Linked DNA regions of Homo sapiens: region 2 is linked to region 1. The links are contacts of gene promoters, found by promoter capture Hi-C in human tissues and cell types (Jung and others, 2019). All regions are on one chromosome and are shown on one strand. The core of a region is centred on a gene start or on the middle of the fragment in contact, and the rest is flanking DNA. Distances in the headings are between cores, read along the strand shown. Region 1 holds the start of MRPL33 (mitochondrial ribosomal protein L33). Region 2 overlaps BABAM2 (BRISC and BRCA1 A complex member 2).

Region 1 (5,676 bases), core at 1,743-4,242:
ACAGCTTCTAGATCCTCGGGTTTGAATCCCATCACTAAGTGCTGGGAATACAGTGTCTACCAACCCAATACAGATGCTGTGTATGGAGCCCTGACCCAGAGCAGATGTTCTCTTCCTCTATCTGCTTCTCCGGGCTGAGAATCTAGGTTAAACAGCTTGATCTTCTCCTCCCTGTAGCACCCCACCTCCCAAAGAGGGTGCCCCTTCTCTAAGGACTACACTTTTTCCATTTGGGCTGCCAGGATGCTCTAATTGTTATGCACTTTCCTCTAATAAGGCATAGAGGGCTCATTATGTAAATTCAAGGAAAAAAGCCCCAAATCATGAATTACATCTGTATTATAATAAACATTTTAATTAACACTTACCAACTGCCAGCTATATTAGGTATAAATAACAGGTGGATGCAACATGAACTCCTGAGGCTAGAGAGTCACTGCCTCCAGCCTACTCCTTCAAGAATTTCAAGAAATAGTTCATATGCTATCTCTTTTCTTCCTCTCCCCTCTCCCCTCTCCTCTCTTGACATGGAGACTCCCTCTGTTGCCCACGCTGGGGTGCAGTGCTGCTACCTTGGCTCAATGCAACCTCTGCCTCCCAGGTTCAAGCAATTCTCCTGCCTCTGCATCCTGAGTAGCTGGAATTACAGGCGCCCACATCTGGCTAATTTTTTTTTTTAAGTTATTTTTGAGACGGAGTCTTGCTCAGTCGCCCAGCCTGGAGTGCAGTGGTGCGATCTTGGCTCACTGCAGGCTACACCTCCCAGGTTCACGCCATTCTCCTGCCTCAGCCTCCCGAGTAGCTGGGACTACAGGCACCCGCCACCACACCCGGCTAATTTTTTTTTTTTTTTTTTTTTGTATTTTTAGTAGAGATGGGGTTTCACCATGTTAGCCAGGATGGTCTCAATTTCCTGACCTCGTGATTCACCTGCCTCGGCCTCCCAAAGTGCTGGGATTACAGGTGTGAGCCACCGCGCCCGGCCAGTTGTGTTATTTTTTAGTAGAGATGGGGTTTCGCCATGTTGGCCAGGCTGGTCTCAAACTCCTGACCTCAGGTGATCTACCCTCGTCGGCCTCCCAAAATACTGGGATTGCAGGAGTGACCCACTGCACCTGGCTCTTTTCAAAAGCAAGCTTATACATTCTCCTGGATCCTGAAACTATTGACAATACTTAAAGTTAGTTTTTTTTTTTTTGCTATTTAAACATAAATATTGACATTTGTATGGTGCCTCTCACCTCAGATTCATTCATTCAATAGATATTTAATAGATGTAGCAGGCATTGTTGTAGGAACCAGGGATACAGCAGTGAGGGAATAAGCTGAAGTTCTTTTTTTTAATTAAAAAAATTTTTTTAGAGACAGGGTTTTGCTGTTGCCCAGCATTCTGGTAGCCAAAGACAATAGGGAAATCAACAAGTACACAAGTAATACTATTAATGGCAATAAGTGCTGTAGGAAAACATAAAGAAGAGTAAGGAGAATAGAGTTGGGGGCAGGGGCATGGAGTTTAAGAACTGCTATTTGGCTGGGCTAAAGTTAAAGTGACTTTCTAAGGGACAGAACAAGGACTAGAAATCATGTTCCTTGGCTTCCAGTCTTGTGTTTTCTTATAAATCCTCTAAAGGAAATATAAGAAACCTTATCCTCTTGAACATCTGAAGCTCTTTTTTGCCAATGCAAGGTAAGGAAGGATTTCGGCACCTGGAAGGTACTCAGTAGCTGGAGTCCGGTTATGGGAAGATAAATATCAAGAATGATTAGAAGGAAAAAAAGTATTATAGGTACTAAGGAGAAGGACGGTCTTAATTTAAAAAATTGAATTGTATTGTATGGAGAGCTGATTTTTTTCCTCCTCATCTTCTTTGTGATGGCACAGAGAGCTGAATTTTCTTTAAAACAGTTTTATTACTTTTTTTTTTTTTTTTTTTTGAGACGGAGTCTCACTTTGTCGCCCAGGCTGGAGTGCAGTGGCGCTATCTCGGCTCACTGCAACCTCCGCCTCCCGGGTTCAGCTAATTTTTGTATTTTTAGTACAGGCGGGATTCCGCGACGTTGGCCAGGCTGGTCTCAAACTCGTGACCTCAAGTGATCTGCCTGCCTCAGCCTCCCAAAGGGCTGGGATTACAGGCGTGAGCCATGCGATTAAATCTTATTTCACATCTGTAAGACTTCATATGTAGATACAAATCACGGATTAGGAAAAAAATCCAAAAGTCCTGATTATTAGTTGCGAAATGAGGTTACTGACGAGGTCCTTGGTGTTAGAGGAGCCCAGGTTCCTTACAGAGCCATGAAAAATTAATGATTGCAAACTGGTAGGTCCCAATGTCTACTGGGAAAGGCATGAGTCTTTGGAGTCAGATAAAATCTAGGTTTAAATTCTTACTCTGCCACCTGGTAGTTCTGTGATATTAGGCACGTGATGTGAATGCTCTCAATCTGTTATTTGGCTTCTATGTCAGGAACTGTGCTAGGTGTTTGGATACAGAAGTTTGAGATGCAAAGGGTCCTGCCCTCCTAGAGATTGGGATAACTAAGGAAAGGTGGGGTTCTTAATGCCGAAGGGACTCAGAAGAGTGAGAGTAAGGCTTAACCAGGCGGAGAGGGAGTTGGGTCGGGGGAGGCAACATTTTAAGAAAATATGCGAGGGGCTGATACGCTGGAGCGGCCGAAGTACAATACACAGTTGTTCTTGTGGGTCTAATGCAGGTGGTTGCGATTATTTCGTGAAACAAATATGGAAAGCACCTAACGCTGAAAGCACTTGACCCAGAAATAGGAGTCAGGGCCGGGGCGCGAACCCTGAGCTGTAAATCCCTTTCCAGAATGATGAGGATTCCAACCTCCAGCACGACAAAAGCAAAACACACTCGCTCTGAGAAACCGAGGAACGAGCCAGACGACTGGAGGCAGGTTCCAGGCGGGGGGCGTGGCCTCGGGCGACTGCCGGATGTCCTCTTCCAGAACCGGGCCGTGCCCCGGAAGCAGTTGTTGTTGGTTGGGGGCCTTTTGGCCGGTGACGGAGACTGCCCAGGTGTGGTCACCATGTTCCTCTCCGCGGTCTTCTGTAAGTGGGGCTGGAGACGCCGGTAGGGGTTACGGCGAGGGTTAGGGGGCCGTGACAGGCAGGGCCCCGGAATGATGCGGGGAAGGATGTGCGAACAGGACGGGAAGCTGCAGCTGCGTACTTTTCCAGGCCTTCAGGACCACAGCGTCCGGCATGCCCCGCGGCGCGCCTCCCTGCGCGGACCTGTGGGTGCCTGAGAAGGGGTCTGCGGTGTCTGGATTCAATTGCCGTCCTCACGGACCGTTGAGTCTGGCTGTGGGGCGTTTTTCTCCAGCCCGTGTTAGGAGAATCTTTGTCCGAAGGACCTCAGAATTTGCAGCCCACCTATTTCGAACTCTAAAAATAAGGAAACCGCTCCCGAGAGGGGCAATGAATTGCCTGAGTAATGCGGCAGGGCAGTTAAAGAAGTCCTCGGGCTCCCGAGTCAGTGCTCTTCTTTACCCTTGGCTGACTTCCCAGTTAGATTTAGTATCTGGTTTTCACCACATGTGATGGTTGTTGTAATTTGCAAAGGTTAAACTTGTCAAACAAGAAGCTTGCTGCAGCGCGAATACTTGCACCTTAGAAGAGGGAAAAAATGGAGCAGGTATTACTTTAGAAAGATTTAAAAGGTAGCCAGTCCAACAGTCATGAAATTATGCAAAATATTAAATCTAGAATTGTGTTGGTCTGATTGGATCTTTTAACCTTCCTTCTATAAAATCCTAAGGGGATCCCTAATAGATAGGGAATAGTTACTTGAGTGACACCTCATGGCATATTTCATAAGTTAAATATTTTTGGTTATTACTGATATTTATATGAACTTTGCATAAGAAAGAGAATACATTTATATTTTTATTTTCTTTTCCAACCCTTCCTGTCTACAAAAAAGTTGCCAAGAGCAAGTCAAAGTAAGTAAAGATTTTTCCTTTTTTAAACGTCACTTGTTTATGTTGGATTTGTTAGTCTAGCTGCTCCCAGTACATCCTTATATGAAATTAAGCATTGGGCCTTGATTTCCTAAGAGTTGGTTTGTGGATTACTTAGTTGATTATTTTTTCTTTATGAACTCTTTCAAAAATATTTTCCCTCCTGCTGAACTGAGCTACTTCTGTGAGCATTGAAATACTTGAAGGAACCTTTGCTGCTTTTCTAGTCCCAGGATTTGTGAGCTCACTGTCTGTTTCTAAACAAACCATTGGGCTGTGCTGTATTTGGACTACCACCATATTTCCATTTCCTCAAATCGAGGACCAGGGGCCATGTGTCTGGAGCTCACTACGGGAATCCAGAAGAACAAACTCTGCTTTGATTAAATCATAGTCTGTTTTAATGAGTTTTGTAATCCTTTGCATTCATGGTATAAGCATTTCAAAAATAGCCAAGATTAAAGATTCCATGCTGTACCAGAGAGACTAGAACTACCAAACTTGTATTTCAAAATAAATGTTGTAGACAATAACAGAAGATTTTGTGGTAAAAATAGGGAGGTTCTAAAGCAGCTTTTCCTTGCAACTCAAGACATTGAAAATCCTTAAAGCTAGTCTTTTGGATTAACGTTAATGAAAAACATGTATGTTAGCGCTTTCCCTCCCAGTATCTTTCAGTGATTCACGTAGCTTTCGCCACAGTCCAGTTATTTATGTCAAAATTCCCTGCCCCAGGGATCTATAGGAATCTCTTGCCTTTGGTTTCTGTAGAGGTATATTCTGACTCTCGTTCTTTCTACCCTTGTGACATATTTCATATATGTCTTGCCTGATTGACCTCATGTACCAACTCACCTTCCATACAGTACTGTTAGCTCCTAGAGGACATAGACATAGACTTGTAGAGCTTTGTATTTCCCAGAGTGCCTTCCACAGAGTAAGTGCTTAATATTTGTTGAATCTGTGTTGAATAATTATTGTCTATCTTAATTACAAACAAATACTGTATGCCTCTTATGAGGCACTGTGCTGAATGTTGAAAGCAATGCAGTGGTGTGTAATATAGTCTTAGATGCTTCCAGGTTGTTTTGGAATTACATGAGAAATAAAATAACATGGTCTACATGGGGAGACAAGACACATGAAAAAATAACAAACAGTACAGGTATTAAAAGATCTGGTGAGGCAAACATGGACTTTCTGCTTTGGATGAGTGGAACTTAAATGAAATATGAAGGGGCACAAGGTTTTGCGCATTAGCAAACTAAAAGCTTTAGTCTCTTTATTTTGTCCCTTCCTGAATATAATCATTTATGCCCTGGAAGAGAGGGCTGTTCTGAGACAGCGATCTTTACAATTTCCTCACTAGCCAGCTGTGGTTACCAGTATTTTGATATTTTCCCCTTCCTGACTTCTGCTCCTCGTGAAGGGTGGATGTCTGAGGCTAGTCCCGCAATGTGGCTTGATTGTTCTTATTGTTTTGGTTAGGTCATTGCGAAGTAACTCTGTGTAGTGGAGCAAATCCTAGAGATTTGAAACCATTGAAACTGTTTCATGGAAAACTTAGGCTGTCTTACAACTGAACCTTTTAGGGCCAAGTGATATCTCACAACTAATATTACCCTACAGAGTTCTCAAAATGTGCCATCCCCCTGTGACTGATTTTAGTTTATTTCGTCAGCTCGTACATAA
Region 2 (6,086 bases), core at 3,396-5,895, 330 kb after region 1:
GTTCTCTCTCTTCCACAGTTGGAGTGAATATGCTATTCTGTTTTCTTCTACATATATTTTCACTCTCTAGCCTGCACGTATGGTGTGAGCTTAAGGCTCTAACTTACTCGTTGTCTTACTGTTTACTCTCCAGTTGCTCACTAGCACTTTCCCCTCTGTAATCGGATTGCTTCTGGCTTGTCGTGTCCACCCTTTCATCTTTATTTCTGAATTCTATTTTGGGTTTTTTCTATTCCAACTAATACCATATCTTCTTTTAAAATAATTCTTCTTTTGTAACATTTTAAAATTTCGTAGTTTGAAACCACTATCATAACTTTGGTGTTTTTCCTTTGGCATTTTGCCTACTTTTCCAACACATGTTTTAGTACCAATATCAAGTTCTGTAAAATCAGTGTTTTATTAAATCTACATAATAATTTAGGGAATGTTGTCATCTTTACTATATTTAGTTTTCCCAGCATGGAGCAAATAATATTTCTTCATTTATCTGTCTGTCTTTAATTCTGCTGTCAGACTTTATGTCATCTTTGAATAAGTCTCTAATTTTCTGATTTAAATTAATACCCATTTATTGAATTTTTGTCAGAATTATAAATGGGGTCTTTTCTACTGTGTTTTCTGGCTACGGCCCATAGTATATAGGCTTGTAGTAGTTTTAGATGGATTTTTATCCTGCAACTTTGCTGAAGCCATTTAGCTAACACTAGTTATTTTAAGTTGATTTTATTGAGTTCTGTAATCATATAACTTTATAACTTGATGATATAGAGCTATGACATATATCAAATGTATTTTTTCCTTTTTCCCCATGTTTATATTTTTAATTCTTGTTCCTCTCCAATATCTAATTGCCTATTCAGTCAAGTAGCTACCCTTGCTTCCCTATGAACTAGGAAATAAAGGAATCAGCTTACTCCATGAAAGTCGCAGCCAGCACATAAATGGATTAAGGTGTAAACGTGATATTCTCTTTGGGAGATGAAATGGATCCCAAGTGAGCAATATTGGACTTGTTGGAATGTGTTCACATATGTGAAGAAAGAATGTATCAAACCAAAGCTAGGGAAAGAATAAGAAAAAATAATGTTAGAGAATTTGGCAGTAACTATTCCAGCATTATCCAAAATAAAGGATGGTTTCGCCAGTGAATTTTGAATAATGTGAAAGTGGAGGTAAATGCAGAAGGATGAATGTAGATCACAGACTTTAAACTGTCTTGGTATTCCCTTTGGATATACTAACAAGGTTAGGATCTCAGACTCTATTAAAAGGCAGTTCCTCTAACTCCCCTTGTTTTGATCTCTTGTTCACTCAGAAACCCACATAAGCCTTTCTCATAGGAAGATAATACACTGATCTTAGGGGTTTGGAGTATTCATTCCATCCTTGTGACTGTGATTTATTATTACAAAGTAATAAATTGACTTCTTACAGGGAAAGAATGCAGTAACCATACGAACATAGAGAATTTTAGTACCAAATTAATTTTGATAGTAAACTAATGAGTTAGCATTCTGGCTGTATAATGCCACCTTCCCTTGAGCCATGGCTGTGCAATTGGTATGCAGACAGAATTGAGTTTCTGTGCCCAGAAGGCCAAACTCTGTCCACCAAGAACATAAACTGCACACCCCGAGGCCTCTTGGGGAGAACCTGACAACCTGGTTGTAGTGTGTTTGCTTTGCCAAAGGGCTCAGAATGGGTGTTGCAGTTTTCTATAAGCACTTGTTGCATTAACGATATGATTTCTATACTGTCCCTCTTTGCGTGATGAATTATATTGTTTTCCTTGTGTCTAGTTATGCAGTACAAGAACAAAACTCTGCTTGTTCATAGGAAAATTATTTTAATGTGATCTTTTTTTCTATTTACTAGGGTTTTTATTTAGTTATTATAGCCATACTCATAAAAAATCATTGTGCATATCTTGTCTGTTTTTGGAAAATAAGACTATATTTGCCTTATGAGGTAGATTGAAAAGCATAACATTCTTACCTATTTTTGGAAAGTTCCAAAACATTCTCCAACAAACTCATTGGCTATAGGCATCTTTGAAAACAGTAATCCTAATAACATTTCACTCTGTTGTTGTAAGTTGTCCATTCAGGTTTGCTATTTCCCGATACCTCTCTTTTATCCTCTTGTGGTCTTGAATTTTTATCTATTTACATTTAACTACCAAATTTACTAGCATATAATCAGGATTTATAATGCCCTAATTAAAAAAAAATTTCTAACGTATAGTCTTGATTTAATGTGAATTTTTCTGTCTTTTGTGTTGCTGCATGTACTTAGCTTATTTTTACTTTTGCTCTTCATTTTGTTTTTTGTCTTTTCTAATTTTGGTTTGATATTGATTATTTTCTCTTTTTCTAAATTATTTTAGATAGATTTTTAATTGTTTTGATTTTTTCTTTAAGAGGCCTGAGTTTTCTTAAGATGGCTGCCTTGGCCAGGCACAGTGGCTCACACCTGTAGTCCCAGCACTTTGGGAGGCTGGGGGCGGGTGGGGATGCCAATCACTTGAGGTCAGGAGTTCGAGACCAGCCTGGCCAACATGGTAAAACCCCATCTCTATCAAAAACATAAAAAATTAACCGGGTGTGGTGGCGCGTGCCTGTAATCCCAGCTCCTTGGGAGGCTGAAGCAGGAGAATCGCTTGAACCTGGGAGGTGGAGGTTGCAGTGAGACGAGACCGTGCCACTGCACTCCAGCCTGGGTGACAGAGCGAGAGACTCTGTCTCCAAAAAAAAAAAAAAAAAAAAGATGGCTGCCTGACTTTTAAAAGTCACCTAGTTGAAAAACTATGCTTTTGTGTATATGTGTATGCCCGTTCCTGCCGTTGTGAGCAGATTCTTTTGTGTATCGCCTTCTAATCTCCAAACTCAATAAATGATTTCAGTACATGTAACTATTCAAATAATAATATCAGGAAGCACAAACAAGAGACACTGGAAAGGAGACCATGACTAGAAGAGAGAAGTTGCTACTTGTTGAGATTTTGTGCCTGCAGAAGCATAACGACTAGAAAGCTCGATGCCAAATGAAGGGGCAAGTGTGGGCTGTTGGTCCATGAGGCGTAACACTGAATTCAAAGTCAAGGGCATGTATGTGGGCCTGGCCAGGAGCGAGTAGGTTCTAAGGGGGCAGCTGTTGTGGAGGTACTCATTCATCATGGTCAGGAGGAAGAAATTGGTTTTGTACAGACAGGCAAGGATTTGACAACAGAGTTTACATACAGAGAAGGCAACAGATAGGTATCATTTCCAGGGAAGCAGGCAAAGCCCAGTGTCCACAGATAGCAGGGAACAGGTGGGTCAGATAGTCCCAAGATGATCTGGGATAACAGTGCCAATAATGGTGGCTACTATTACTGATACAGCAGTTTTATAACTTCTCATTTTATAGTTGAGGAAATAGACTCATCCAGGTTTTAAATAACTTATCCAGCCAGGTTGACATAGCCAGTAAGCGATGAAGCTATGATTCTCACTAGTCTGTCTAACTCCAAAGTCTGTGATCTTTCTACTCTACCATATTGCCTGATATCTAGCATGCATGGACTCATTCACACATGATTCAAACAGCTGACACAACAGGGTTATGGCTGCCGAACCTATGACAGAGTTTGTCTTTTTTTAGATCTGGTTTTACCATATTTGGTGTGTGTTAACAAGAATGGGCAGGTATATGTTGGCATGTGAAGTGAGACACAGGGCCTCCCAAATTCTTGTCACTGAGATGATGATAATTTTAATGCTCCTCTGCCTAGTTCTCTGCACCCATGTAAGTTATGGAGCAGAGTGAGGGCTGAGATAGAGTCTGTCTTTCCAAGCTGTGAATTACAGGGCCTCACCTGTGGTTGTCCTATCCCCAGTCCATGTGGGGAACCTGCAGACCTCCTAACATGCCCCATATAGTAAGCCATACAGTTGTGTTGATTTTTATCTCACCCTCTTAGAATTTCTACTGTTTGTGCATGTTTTATGATGTTCATAATGTATTAGTACATAGGTTCATCTATATAGCTTATAAATAAATACATATAAACATATTGATAGGAAGCTCACACATTTTTTTATTGCTCTAAGGCAATAGACCCCAAACCTGGATGGGCAGTTCAATCCCCTTGTAAGTTAAAAAATCATATTTCCTTGACTTACCCACACTTACTGAATCATAATCCCCAGGGCAGGGTTCAGGAATGTGTGTTTTTTAACAAATGCTAGAACTTGAACCACTGCAGTAGCTCTCTGTAGTTGCTAGAAAAAAATCTTGGTATCAATTGTTGTAAATAAACCATTGGAAACAAGATAACTCCTATAGTGTTTTGAAGGCTATTTATGAATTGGCTGACTTGTTTATTCGTCATCCCCTGCTGAAAGGTAGGCTCTAAGAGGAGGGCCATTATCTAGCTTGTTCACCAGTTGTTCCTAGAATAGTGCCTGACACGTAGAAGTGCACAGTGAATATTTTTTGAATAAATAAATGAATAATGAAACGCTTTTTCACTGTGCTTGGGTAATACATGTCCCTTTTTCCCTCAATACCAGAGAAAGAATTGGTTTCAGCTGTGCCGTTGTAAATTTGAATGATCTGATAAAAATCCTTGGTTACTCCACTGAACCGACTGCAATTTTTTTAATGTCTAAAACATACTTATTCTCATATTTTGTTACATTTTAATACCATTTAAGAGTAGTAGAATTTGGAAGGTGACATAGAGATCCACTTTTATTTCATTTTCATTTCAAGCCCCTGTGTCTTTAAGGAAAGGGCTAAGCTACAACTTGGTCATTCTCCAGATCCAAGAGGAAATGGATTGGAGCAGTTGTGCCTTTGTAGAGCAGATGTTTTGGTTGGAAAGGCTATCAGCCATCTGACTCATAATAAATTCTCAATTCCAGTAAATTCCCAGTTTTCAGTTACAGTAGGTAGGATGCAGGAAAACAGTGTCTTCCACTTTGGGGTCTTTGAACTTATTTCACATGTTACCACTGTTCCTTGTGCATTACAATGTGCGAACAGACAAAATACTAGGGGAGGTTAGAGCAATTCCAGGAATAGACTCAGTCAGTTGGTGTTTTTGAGAGAGACCATTGGAGGTAAACCAAAGCCACTGCCCTCTCTGACACAGTACTAACCACAAGAAACATAACTGCATTGAGTTTTCTTATAAGTTCCTATGTTAAAATAATGATTTTATATAGGAATCATGTAATAAAATAATGATTTTACAAACTGAATTATGTCAGTTTGAGTAATCTATAAACGGCCTATAGTTTTTTGTTTTGTTTTATGAGGAGGGTTTCCTTTATCCTTTTCATAAAATGCTGAAAGTAATTATATGGTCCTGATGTGATATCTTTCATTTTAGAGTATTTGTTTTTTGGGAAAATTTACTCAATACTTGAACTTATTGAGTAAAAAAAAAAAAAAATTTACTCAGTAAGCTTCTCAAAGTTCTAGTAAGGCCTTATAGCCAGTGTTCCAGATGGATGAAGCAGAATTATGAAAGTGATATTCAACGTGTCCTACTTTGTATTGTGAGCTGAGTTGAGAGAATTCATTATTTACTTAGTATTTTTGTTTTGTTTTGTTTTGTTTTGTTTTTTAGACAGGTTCTTGATCCTGGCTCAGGCTGGAGTACAGTGGTGTGATCACATATCACTAGAGCCACAATCTCCTGGGTTCAATTGATCCTGCCATCTTAGCCTAGTAGCTGACACTATAGACACATGCCACCATGCTCGGCTAATTTTTGTATTTTTTGTGGAGATGGGGTTTTGCCATGTTGCCCAGGCTGGCCTCGAACTCCAGGGTTCAATCCATCCTCCCATCTCAGCCTCCCAAAGTGTTGGGATGACAGGCGTGAGCCACTGCACCTGGCATAAAGTGGTGTCTTATTATCCCCACTCTGTTTTTATCGAGGAGTCAGTTTCTTTTCAACCATCACTGAAGTGGGAAGAATAGTGTACTCCTCACAGAGATGAAAAGGTCCCATTGTTTCTCCAGAGAGCAACAGTCCCATTTCTGCTCTTTATGAGAGCTTCTTAGGTGATCTCTTCTACCAAGTGAGACAT

What was found. Contacts are between HindIII fragments. The study calls those that stand out against the background at their distance.
Region 2: a fragment that was not itself captured here is called in contact with the fragment with the promoter of MRPL33 in region 1 in 1 of the 25 tissues and cell types used here (dorsolateral prefrontal cortex).

The regions. Positions count from the first base shown.
Region 1 is chr2:27,768,727-27,774,402 of GRCh38, forward strand. MRPL33 (mitochondrial ribosomal protein L33) reads left to right here and starts at 2,993. Exons shown (of 4, transcript NM_004891.4): 1 at 2,993-3,073; 2 at 3,948-3,966. The coding sequence starts at 3,052. RefSeq lists enhancers at 2,635-2,754, 2,988-3,804, 3,045-3,174. The HindIII fragment of the contact is 4,142 bases long and covers 290-4,431 here.
Region 2 is chr2:28,097,715-28,103,800 of GRCh38, forward strand. All of the region lies in intron 6 of BABAM2 (BRISC and BRCA1 A complex member 2), which reads left to right. Among named protein-coding and RNA genes, the nearest start is that of MIR4263, 100 kb to the left of the region's middle. The HindIII fragment of the contact is 5,252 bases long and covers 2,020-6,086 here.